Linked DNA regions of Homo sapiens: all the other regions are linked to region 3. The links are contacts of gene promoters, found by promoter capture Hi-C in blood cells and fetal thymus (Javierre and others, 2016). All regions are on one chromosome and are shown on one strand. Each heading gives the region's core, a stretch centred on a gene start or on the middle of the fragment in contact. The rest is flanking DNA. Distances are from core to core; before and after follow the strand shown.

Region 1 (3,526 bases), core at 439-2,938, 480 kb before region 3:
TTAATATGCTCTACGTCAGGTATTTCAGACATCTCATCCTGCAGTTGGGAGGGGTTTCCTCATGTGCCCTTGACTTGGTGCCATTCTAATGTTGATAGAGAATATTTTCAGAGCCTGGTTTGCAAGAGCTCTCAGTTGTTAAATGTTCAGGTTGCTATTCATCTCTTCTTCCCTTTCTGCTTCTGACCAATGGGAAGAACACATAAGGAATAATAGCAAGAGAAGAAAGTAACACTTGTCCTCAGTATCAAGTCCCTGATATTCAAAGCAAATTCTGCTAAAAGCTGGATTGGAGAGCCAGATGCTGAAGTGCATGCTTCTACCACAGAGACCACATCTGAGTCATTAGACCCACATGCTCAGCCAGACGAGCGAGTGGGCATGTGAGCAGCTTGGCCTGCAGAGCAGACATAAAGTCACTTATCTGACCACCTACACACCAGGACTATGGGCCTACCTCACCCACCCCAGTTGTAGGTAGAACAAGAACAGCAGCTCTTCCCACAGAGGAGGAACTGCCCAGTGGTGCTTACCATGTGGGAGCAGTAATGGAAGAGATGGTCTTTACCACAGTGATGCCGCCCACCAGTAATGGTGACATAGTGAGTGTGAACTCCCACTCACCGATGATTCCTTTCCTTGGTGGGAAGTGAGTAAGGGGTAGGAGATACCAGAGAATTCCACTCTGAAGAGTGGGGAAAAGGCCCTTCATCTACCAGCTGGGACTTACTACAAGCATAAACATTCCTCCCCTCCCTGGCATCAGTTCTGAAAAGTACTGCTATTGTGCTATTCCTTGGAGAATGTCTTGCGAAGTAATTCGAGATGTGATGATTGGGGAAGCAAACTTAAGCTGAAAAGACAGTAGATATTTTCCCTCCCCTACTGCCTGTGTACTTGCATAAAGGATACTGGAATCTTGATTGGAGAAAAATGTTATGACTGGAAAGCTCCTCATGGATAACCTGCAAATCAATCTTTGGTTTATGCAAGGCAGCACCTGTGCCTCTGTGCTGATGGTGCAGATGTAGTAATGACCACGCTGAAATGCCAGCTGCAAGCCTGGGATTTAGGGAGCCTACTCTTTCCCTGGGGTGGGGGTTGGGTGAATCCAACTTAAAGAAAAACAAACATATGAGAGGTTGGCGTGGAGAGACTGAAAAGTCTGTGACTACTTGGCTTGTGAAAATTGCCTTTTGTTTCTGAAACAATATTATTTGTGAAGAAAATTCAACTCTCCCAGTGTAAGAACTCTTCTTTTTGTATTTGTATTTTATATTGGAATGCACTATGGCAATGATTGAAAAACACCGTGAATGAATTTGGGAATTAGGCCAAGTTAGGTTTAGGATCTAGCTCCATTACCTATCAGGGGGACCTTGGCTAAGTTACGTCACTTCTCTGAGCCTTGGTTTCCTCACTTAGAGTGAGGACAGTTATAGCCACCAGTCAGGGTTGTTGCACAAATTACAGATATTGAATGTAAAGTTCTGGCCCAGAATGAATTTTGATGACGATTATGTTTTTTTCTAAGTGCTTTACCCTGCATCACAGTGGGTGGATTTGCAAGCTTTATTTTTGCACAACACTAAATCCAGGGGGATATTTGTTTCTTTATGTGGTCAGAAAAACTAGGTCAGATTTTAAAGTGGGAATTAGGAGATCATGTCCCAGAGAAATCCTTTCTAATCTGTATTGGTTTTTCTAGAGAATTAGATCATCCAAACATCTGCAGATTCACTGGAGGCTGTATTGCACTGCCAGATGTGGTTATTGTGATGGAATACTGCCCAAAGGGAAGCTTGATGGATGTTCTGCTCAATGATAACATCTCTTTCAACTGGGGATTTTGGTAGGAGCCAGACATTTGAGTGGTAGGAGTCACAACCAGTGAACTCCTACAACTAAGCCCTTCTTTGATCAACATTCCTAAGGCTCATTGCCATGTGAATGCGTTATCTTGGAATCAATTATCCTGGAAGTGAATGCAATATCTTGTGTTATATCTTGTGGCATGGATGGGCAGGTTGGTATACCTAGACAGGGAAGACTAGAGGAAATAGGATTTTGAATGAGGTCCCTCTCCCCCAACTGGTGCCCAGAGGAGACCTGGCTAAGTAGAACATTCTGTTTAGAACATTGTTTGGCGTAGCTATAGGCCACAGCAAATAGTCCTGACAAGACGAGCAGTAGGTCTAATTAATTAATCTAAGAAACACTATGCTAGACACTGTAGGTAATAAAAATAAATGAGAAAGATTTTCTGCCTTCAAGAATGTCTTGGTCCATTGGGGAAGGCAAATAAGCAGAGTTACAGAACAGCGATAGAGTTCCTAGGGGTATGTCAGGTGCACAGGAGTGGCATCTAGCCCAGACTGGGGATGGGAAATGGGCTTTGGAAGGTTTCCTACTGGCGGTGAGCTGGGGAAGGGTAGACATTTCTTCTTCTTGTTTTTTTTGACAGTAGCCATTCTAACTGGAATGAGATGACATCTCATTGTGGTTTTGATTGGCATTTCCCTTCCTCTTCTCAAATATGATCAGCTACAGAGATTTGATTACCTGAACTCTGGGATACAAGTGGAGAACAGGCCAGGAGTTCAAGCCAGGCCAGCAGGTCAAGCCAGAATTTATGTGGGCACAAAATTGATGATGGCCCAGAAGGGGGGGTAATCCTCACTGAGTCCAACAGTATTAGGCTGGAGGTCTTGAAACCCCTTCTGCCTTGAATCGGGATTGGCACTACAACATTCCAGATAAGGTGCTTTGGTGGTAGCTGTGGGGATGTAAGGCAGACAGACTTGGATCCTGTTAGCTACTCTTCTGGATGACACTTTCCTTTTAGAAACACTTTCAGGTTCAGGAAGCAAATGAGGTGGAGCCGAATAGAACTCTAAGAAAACTGAACTCGAAGACTTTCTAAAAATACATGTGTGTGATACTATGCTTCTCTCTTCCTTCTCCTCCATGTTCTTCTCTTTCTTTTTCTTAATTTCTTCTTCTAACTCCTTCTTTTCCTTTTCTCTATTCATATTTGTTGTGGGTGCATATTGAGAAGTCAATTATTTATGATATGTAAGTTCCTCCTAAAAGATGTAGGGAGCTTTGTTTTTGTTGCAAAAGTTTATTATTTTTGTTCTGGAATTGATTAAAGTATCACCTTTCTAAGAACATTGGAGGCCTGAGTCCTGTTCTCAGCTCACATGGAGTCCTTTGGCATGTCCAGGTTTTCTTTGCCTGGACGTTGCATAAGGAATGGCCTATCTTCATCAGTGCAAAATGTACCGTGGGAAGCTAAAATCTACTGACTATGTGATTGATGGTTGCTGAGTTTGTAAAATTTCAGGCAAAGGGAAAAGCATCATATTGGTATACATGCTTTCCTAGCAACAGAGTATGTTTCCTTCCGGAATCACTTTTTAGACACGGTCTGTTTGGTTTTGACAATAGCTATCATTTATGGAACTATACAAAAGGCTAGTGTTGGGGAGGGATGGGGATGTCAGCAAATTACAGCCCACAGCCC
Region 2 (3,605 bases), core at 197-2,696, 500 kb before region 3:
TCATAAGTGTATTATTATTTTATCAAAAATTTCTCCTTTAAAATGCATGATTAAAAAAGGATTTAATCATTGAAGATGGTTTCATTTTGTCTTGGGATTGGTTTTATATGACTCTCAGAGGGGGAAAGTTCACTTTAAAGGTGAACCTTCTGGGATGCATTTATTCTACAAAGTGAGGCACACCTGATCGCAGTAAATATAGAGAAGACCATGAAGTTCCCAATTTAAGAATAATTTAAGATTGAAAAATGTTAAATCGGCTCTTGGTTTTTAAGGTCTACCACCTAAAAATGTGTATTAATCTTCAAAATTTAATATCACTGAGGGTAGCATAAGAGAATAAGGATTAAATGATACTGTGGAAAGATTTAAGTTAGATATTCCAAGCTTTGAAAGATTCAGAGATGCCAGTATCCATCCATGGTCATAGGTGGGAGGAGTTTTATCTTGGAATCTGTAATAAGAGAGCAAATAATCTGTCTCCTTGTTTTACCCCTCCAGGAATCAACCCCATGATTCAGGGTTGTTTCTCTTTAATCAATCATACGCCCTTGGTTTTGAGTATTTTAATCTGGATGAGGGATGTTGTTTTAAGATTAATGGAAAATAAATATGGTTCATGAGCTATATTTTTCTTGCTGCCATGTACTCTCTAATGAGGTAAATTACTTCTCCTTATTCCAGTGGAAAGATCAAGTTCAATGTTTAGTACACCAAACAGCCCTAGGGTATTTATCGTGTATTATATATTTTTTCCTTTTGCTCTACAGCTGCAACTTCATGGATCTGTGCTGAAGATACCCATAGATCCTGGGGTTCCCAGAGCAACAATGCATAAACTAGAAAGAATCAGCTGGAAGGGATGGAATGTACCTTGGTTGTCTGATCCCTTGTTTTATTGCTATTCCCGGTGGTGTTGGTCCACACAGGTGTGACTTCTCTTATTGCCCATATCAGAACTGGAAAGAGGTAAGCTGCCCTGGAAGCCTAAACACCATGCTACCAGCAGAAGGTAAGGAAGCGGAGTGTCTGTTCAGCAGGTCTGAAGGTGACTCTAAGCTCTGTGAAGGCAGAGCTTGCTGTACCCACAGTGCCTAGCACCATTCCACAGGCACCCAATAAGTGCTGTTGAGTTTCTAAAGGTGGTTTATTGTTTCATGGCCAAACTTGTCTCCCTTCTTCAAGGGTCTTGGCTGAGTCTCTACATAGAAGCTCTAGTGATCTCTGCATTACAGCATTCAGAGTTTTTGCCTGGACAACCAGAGATGGTGAAGCTCTGCAGGCCTGGCTGGGTTTTAGAGTCAGGACTGGCTTTGGGAGTACAGGGAAGCCTGCAGACAGCATCAGAGAAGCCAGAGACTAGACCCAAGCTGATCTGAACATCAATCTGAAGGGCTGGGACAGAGGCAAACTCAGGTTTGAAGCACAGAGATGGAACAAGTAGACTTAGAAGATAGGGCAGGTGGTCACCTTGGATAGACTCCAAAGGGCTTGACTGAGACAGGGCTTTTGTGAGGCAAATGCATCCTCATTCAGGATGCTGAGCCTCTGAGAACAGAGTAGCTTTGGGTAGCAGCTTTTTCTACACACACCTTGATGCAGAGCCCCATGTTCCCTACCCTGCCCCCTTTAAGAGCTTGCTTTGTTTCCTGCCTAAGGAAGAGGAACTCTGGAGGTCCTCCTAGAACCCAGATAAAACTCAGGCTTTCATCTTCCCAGCAGGGAAGCCAGTTCTAGAATTGGCTGTGGCTTTGGCAGAGACCATCAGTACTATTGCCTCAATCATCCAGCTCCCCACGACTTCCCGCAGGCCTGAGATTGAAGCCAAGACCCATAGGCCCAGCCCTCTAGAAAGCAGGTTTGTCATCATTACCGGCCCTAGGAATTCACAAGCAGATCCTCCCAGCTTTTCCTCTTGGTGACTTCTGAGGGCATCACAGATGAAGCCTTTGTGCCAGATGGTCTCACGTTAGGCCCTGTGAAAGGAGCACTCACAGAGCCGTTGCACCTTTAAAGAATTGCCCATTTTCGATACCTGGCATATCACTTGAATAGAAGAAGTTTAACAGAATTAACAGTCTGTGTCTGGATGCAAGATGGTTTTAACCTACAATATATTTAGGGTGCTGCCCGTGCACCCCAGGGCTCCTTGAGGCAATTAAAACCGTGCCCTTGGCAATGTGGCTGACTTCAGTGGCTCTTTTGCCAGAGTTACAGCAGTTTCTCATCATGTCTGGAAGAGATTAGATTTGTGTGGTGTGGAGAGAGGACGCTTCTGACAACATGATAGGTCATGTTGGTGGAATTGTGGCAGGACCCAGAGTGCTCCCAGAAACTTCATTTTCTTCCAAACAAATGTAAATGGGGTTCAATTTACTGGTCAAATTCAGCAACTAGAAGAAATTACATAAACTGTGAAGCCACAAGGAGCAATTTTACTAAAAGTTATGTTGGCCTACATGGAGAAATTTAGGCCATGGAAGACTCAGGACCATTTTAAGCTTTATGTAGACTCTTTTGGAGGCATCATCACTTAGATCAAACGAATTAAAATGCACCCACATCTTGAATTAAATGTAAAATTTTCCATAAAAATGTTGAAGGGATTTTTATATTTTTGCCTTTGAAGTTATTTGCCTATACATGATTATTCAATTTACAATTGTCTGTGTCTACTCTCCCGAGTAGGCATAAATCAATCAGTGTGCCTACTCAGGAATTCTTGCAAAACAAGAGAATCTAATCTACAAGTGTTCTCACCTGTAATAAATTTATAAATGAATAATAAATTTAACAATGACATTGACATAATGTTACATTTTTCAGGTAGTTAATTAAATGGCTATTAATTTCAATTTTGTTATCTGTATCTTGGAACCTTTTTTTTTTTTTTCCATAGGCCCCTGAAAAGCAATGGACCCTAGCCACTGAGTTTCGTGTGCCTCACAGATAAAATAGCTCTCAGGGAATTTGACTCTGATGTTTAGCTCAGGAATAAAAGATTTAAAGGGTACAGGATTACTGTTTTCAAGAAGTAGAAGGTCTGTATGTGAAAGAGGGATAAGACAATTCTATGGCACTCCATGGGACTGGAGCAGGTGGCTCTCCAGGGCAACATAACAAAGAGGCTGTCACAGGAGGTGTGTGACCTGGAAGCATCCCCTCCCAGTGTTTTATTGAGGCTGGGAGGTTGCAGAGGGCCAAGGAGTAGAGTCAGAAGATCAGACTTGAAGTCCTCGTGCTGATTATTACTTGTGTGACTTTGAGTAAGTCACTGAATCTCTTTGTATTTCCCTTTCCTTATCTACAAAATGCAGATGTGTCCCCAGCTTGACTTATCACATAGGGTTGCTAAAGATCAAAGTGGGATCATTTCAAACTGTTAGTCAAGTTAATAGTTTCTATACAAACATTCAGCCCTATTCAAGTGTTATATTGGAGTTAATTGGAGTGATAGCTCCAATTCTAAGGATACTAATGGAGCAACTAGTAGTTATAGGATGGAAGGAAATCTTCAAAATGAGTCATTTAAAATTCATTAGTTCTACTGACAATAATCTTCCAGAGCATAAGTGACTCCTAATAAACGTATAAGGAACAAGTAA
Region 3 (3,384 bases), core at 771-3,270:
CAACACACACAACACGCTCATGTGCATGCAACATTTCTCAAGTATCGGCTGTAGCATTTAAACTGATCCATCAGAGCACAAGAGGCTCTATGGATGAAGGAACAAAAGGGAGGATGGAGTTAGAAAATTTCTTCCTCCCAAATATATACACATAACATCTGTCTTGAACTTGTTCTGACAAGGCACGAAGCTAAGGAAAGAGTCCCGTGAAGGACCTCACCTACCACACTCCAGGATGGTGGAAACTGCTTTTTGACAGGGGCTGAGGAAGCACCACTCAGAGTGACACCCTCTGAAAGTGGAAAGTGAAAGAACGTCAAGACTGGAAATCATTATTCCAATAAACTCAAGGCTAATAACCATGCAACTGCAAACAGAAATGAACACGTGCAAGGGAAGGCAAAAGCATGCCTCCTTGTTCTTTTGGAAATAACTTCCTGACTACTTGGTAACTCTCACAGGAACCCCTACACACTTGGCATGGTCTCCCCACTGGCACTTTTGTGAGCCTACAGGTCCTGTTTGCCACATCACTGTTGTAATCCTGATGCACAGACAGGTCAGCTCTGCAAGCACAGAGACAACCAAAGGCATGTGCGAAGCCTTGCTGACTTTTCAGGAGGCTGGCAAGGTTCATCACAGCCTCACGTGGGGACCTAGTACATGGTTTCCAAAGTGAGATCAAACTTGGTTCCAGATACCAGAGGTTAATACTGTCCATGGCATGAGGTGGTGTGTGTTCCCAATCAGAGGAAGGATCACAAACAAGAAGCAGGCCCAATGAATGAAGCCTCTGAAGCATTTCCTACACCAGCATCCTCAAAGTGTGGTGCAGAGAACTCCTAGGGATCTCCAAAGTCAAAACCATTTTCCTAGTAATAAAATGTTACTTGCTTTTTTTCATTCACACATTTTCAGGAGTATACAGTGGAGGTCTCAAGAGGCTACATGATATGTGATATTGCAACAGACTGCAGAAGCAGCTATCAGAATCCAGCTGTCTTCAATTACGCTTGACATCAAAGAGATTTGCAAAAATGTAAAACAATGCCACTCTTCTCAATCATTTTCTGTTTTGGGAAATATAGTTCTTTTTCATAAAAATAGGCAATGTTAAGATATAATTAGTTCACTATTCTTTTTAAATGAATTATTATAGTACAAATTTCTCAGTCTTACTTACATATTATAAATATGGATAGATATAACACACATAAAAGCTCCTTAAGATACTAATTTTTAAGAGTGTAAAGGAGTACTGAGTACCAGAAAAGTTTGGGGACTTCTGTCCTAGAGGTTGTCCCCCAGGGAAGAGAGTTACATGTGTTGCAAGAAGGAAGATGCCATTATGATGTGCTAGCTGAATCTAGAAAAAAATGACTTGGTCATAACTGCAGCCCAAGCTCCTTTCTAGATCTCTGAATCTATCATGGTGGGCTCTGTGTTCAAGCCTCCCACGAAGGGTCTCTTCCCCCTCATCCCATTTTCCCTTTACCCCTTGGAGTGGATTCCCGGATCTGCCCGCACAACTTTAGCAAGGGTTTCCCTATCCAGCCAGCCGGGCCTGGGCGAGGACTCCCAGTGCGGGCCTCACACCCTCGGGGTTAGGACTCCCAGGACTGGCCGCACACCCTAGGCAAGGACTTTCAGGACAGCACGCACAGCCAAGGCTAAGAAGGGTCTAGGAAAGCCACTTCCAATCCCTGGTTTCTCTCCCCGGCATGACATAGACTGGGGACAGGGTGGAGACGTCAGTCGCCAGAAACACGTCCCCGATTCTCCTCTCAGCCTCCCCAAGCTCGCCTCCGTGTCCCCCGTGCCGCCACTGCCTCGGGCACCTCGGTAAAGGCCCGCACCGACTCTCGAGGGATACAGGGTGGACGGCGCTCCCGCCTGGGGACGTGGGTCGGGCCGCGTCGGTACTCACCTCCGACTGCACGGCGGGGCTCCCGCGACCGGCGAACCTGACCCAAGCAGCGGGACGCGTTCCCGTGCGCTGCGCGGTTCCAGCTGCCGCCTCCACGCTCCGCCCCCTCTCGCCCCCGGGGCCGCCGCGCGATGGGCGGAGCAGGGGCGGGAAGGGCGGAGCAGGGGCGGGACGGACGGGCAGCTAGCCGAAGAAGGGGCGGAGCCTGCGGGCGCCCCCGCGGGCCTGGAGGACTTCGCCCCGGGCTGGAGGCTAGGGTTGCGAAGGGCTCCTCCGCTGGAAGTGGGAGGGCTGATCCCTCGGCCCGGGTCCGCTTCTGCCAGCATGGGACCTGGGACGAGGGTGTCTGTTGCTCACTTTGGAGCTTAGCATGTGACTCCCCAGCCGGCGTTAGGAAGTGACCAAAGGGTGGGGAAGAAATGGAATTATTTTTAAAAAATGATTTGGCCATAACTGGAGAGGCTTCATGTACGTGTGGTCACTTGGCCCGCCTCCCTTCTCACTTTGTCCGTCCCCACCCTACCCACCCTCTCCACCCTCGCCTTAATTCTTTGCGCAAAGCCTGCCAAGTGGACATCGGAGTCACGCTGTCAGAATAGGACTTCAGCATTTCCGTGGCAAAAGTTCTATATGTAGATTTCCTTGGACATGTAACAACACTTTCTAATGCACGATGTTCACCGGTCTGAAGTCGGAGAAATGGCTGGGAGATGGCAGCAAGTGGGCTTTCACAAGATCTGCTTTTCATGTTGGTAGGAGTTGTGCCCTCTTGGGTGAATGGCGTTCAAAGAAGTGATTAGATCTTTCTAGATGAAAGGTGGTGAGGTTTTCCTGCCCAAATTATTTGGAAAGTTACTGTAGTTTTCTGAATAAGCAGCTTATAGGATGAGTAAACAATAGCCAGTACTAATAGCCCCCCTGCTACTTTATACTGCCCTCCTATTCTGCACAAAGCCCTGTGATCGACTCTTTCCACGTTATTCAGTTCAGCTCTTCCAACCACCTTACAAGTAAAGAATATTACCCGTCTTTGCAGGTGTGCAATGCGCAACAGCTGAGACTCAGTCCTTAGGTTGGTTTGACACCAAAGCCTACACCTTCCCTGTCATACTGCACTATAGGGTACAACTATCGTCTAGTTATATTTAACTTTGAAATATAAATACTTATATTTATTTTGAAAGGGGAAGTAACTGTATTTCCAATATGAGAGGAGACTGTTTTCCCACCCACTTCCTAAATCCTTTCCATTCACATTAGTAATTAAATTTTCTTTGAATGTCCACCATATGGCAGAGGTGCACCACAATCCCTGAAAAATCATGCTCCAGTCCCCTTGGGAGGTAGGGAGAGTAGGGGCAAGGTGAGAGTGAGTAGAAGGCTGGGGAAGTCCGATGAGGACACATCCAGCTAAATTGCGATTCTTAATGAGGCAGCCATTCGGAAAGCAAAGTATC

The links. The method cuts DNA at HindIII sites, captures the fragments that hold promoters and counts their contacts. A CHiCAGO score of 5 or more calls a contact.
Region 1: a fragment that was not itself captured here is called in contact with the fragment with the promoter of ACO1 in region 3 in 2 of 17 cell types (M2 macrophages and M1 macrophages); the score reaches 6.8 in M2 macrophages.
Region 2: a fragment that was not itself captured here is called in contact with the fragment with the promoter of ACO1 in region 3 in 1 of 17 cell types (M0 macrophages); the score reaches 5.5 in M0 macrophages.

The regions. Positions count from the first base shown.
Region 1 is chr9:32,863,386-32,866,911 of GRCh38, reverse strand. No RefSeq gene overlaps it. Among named protein-coding and RNA genes, the nearest start is that of TMEM215, 82 kb to the right of the region's middle. The HindIII fragment of the contact is 231 bases long and covers 1,573-1,803 here.
Region 2 is chr9:32,884,412-32,888,016 of GRCh38, reverse strand. No RefSeq gene overlaps it. Among named protein-coding and RNA genes, the nearest start is that of TMEM215, 100 kb to the right of the region's middle. The HindIII fragment of the contact is 2,114 bases long and covers 390-2,503 here.
Region 3 is chr9:32,383,279-32,386,662 of GRCh38, reverse strand. It overlaps ACO1 (aconitase 1), which reads right to left and starts at 2,020. Exons shown (of 21, transcript NM_002197.3): 1 at 1,928-2,020. RefSeq lists a silencer at 1,840-2,219. The HindIII fragment of the contact is 14,350 bases long and covers 1-3,384 here.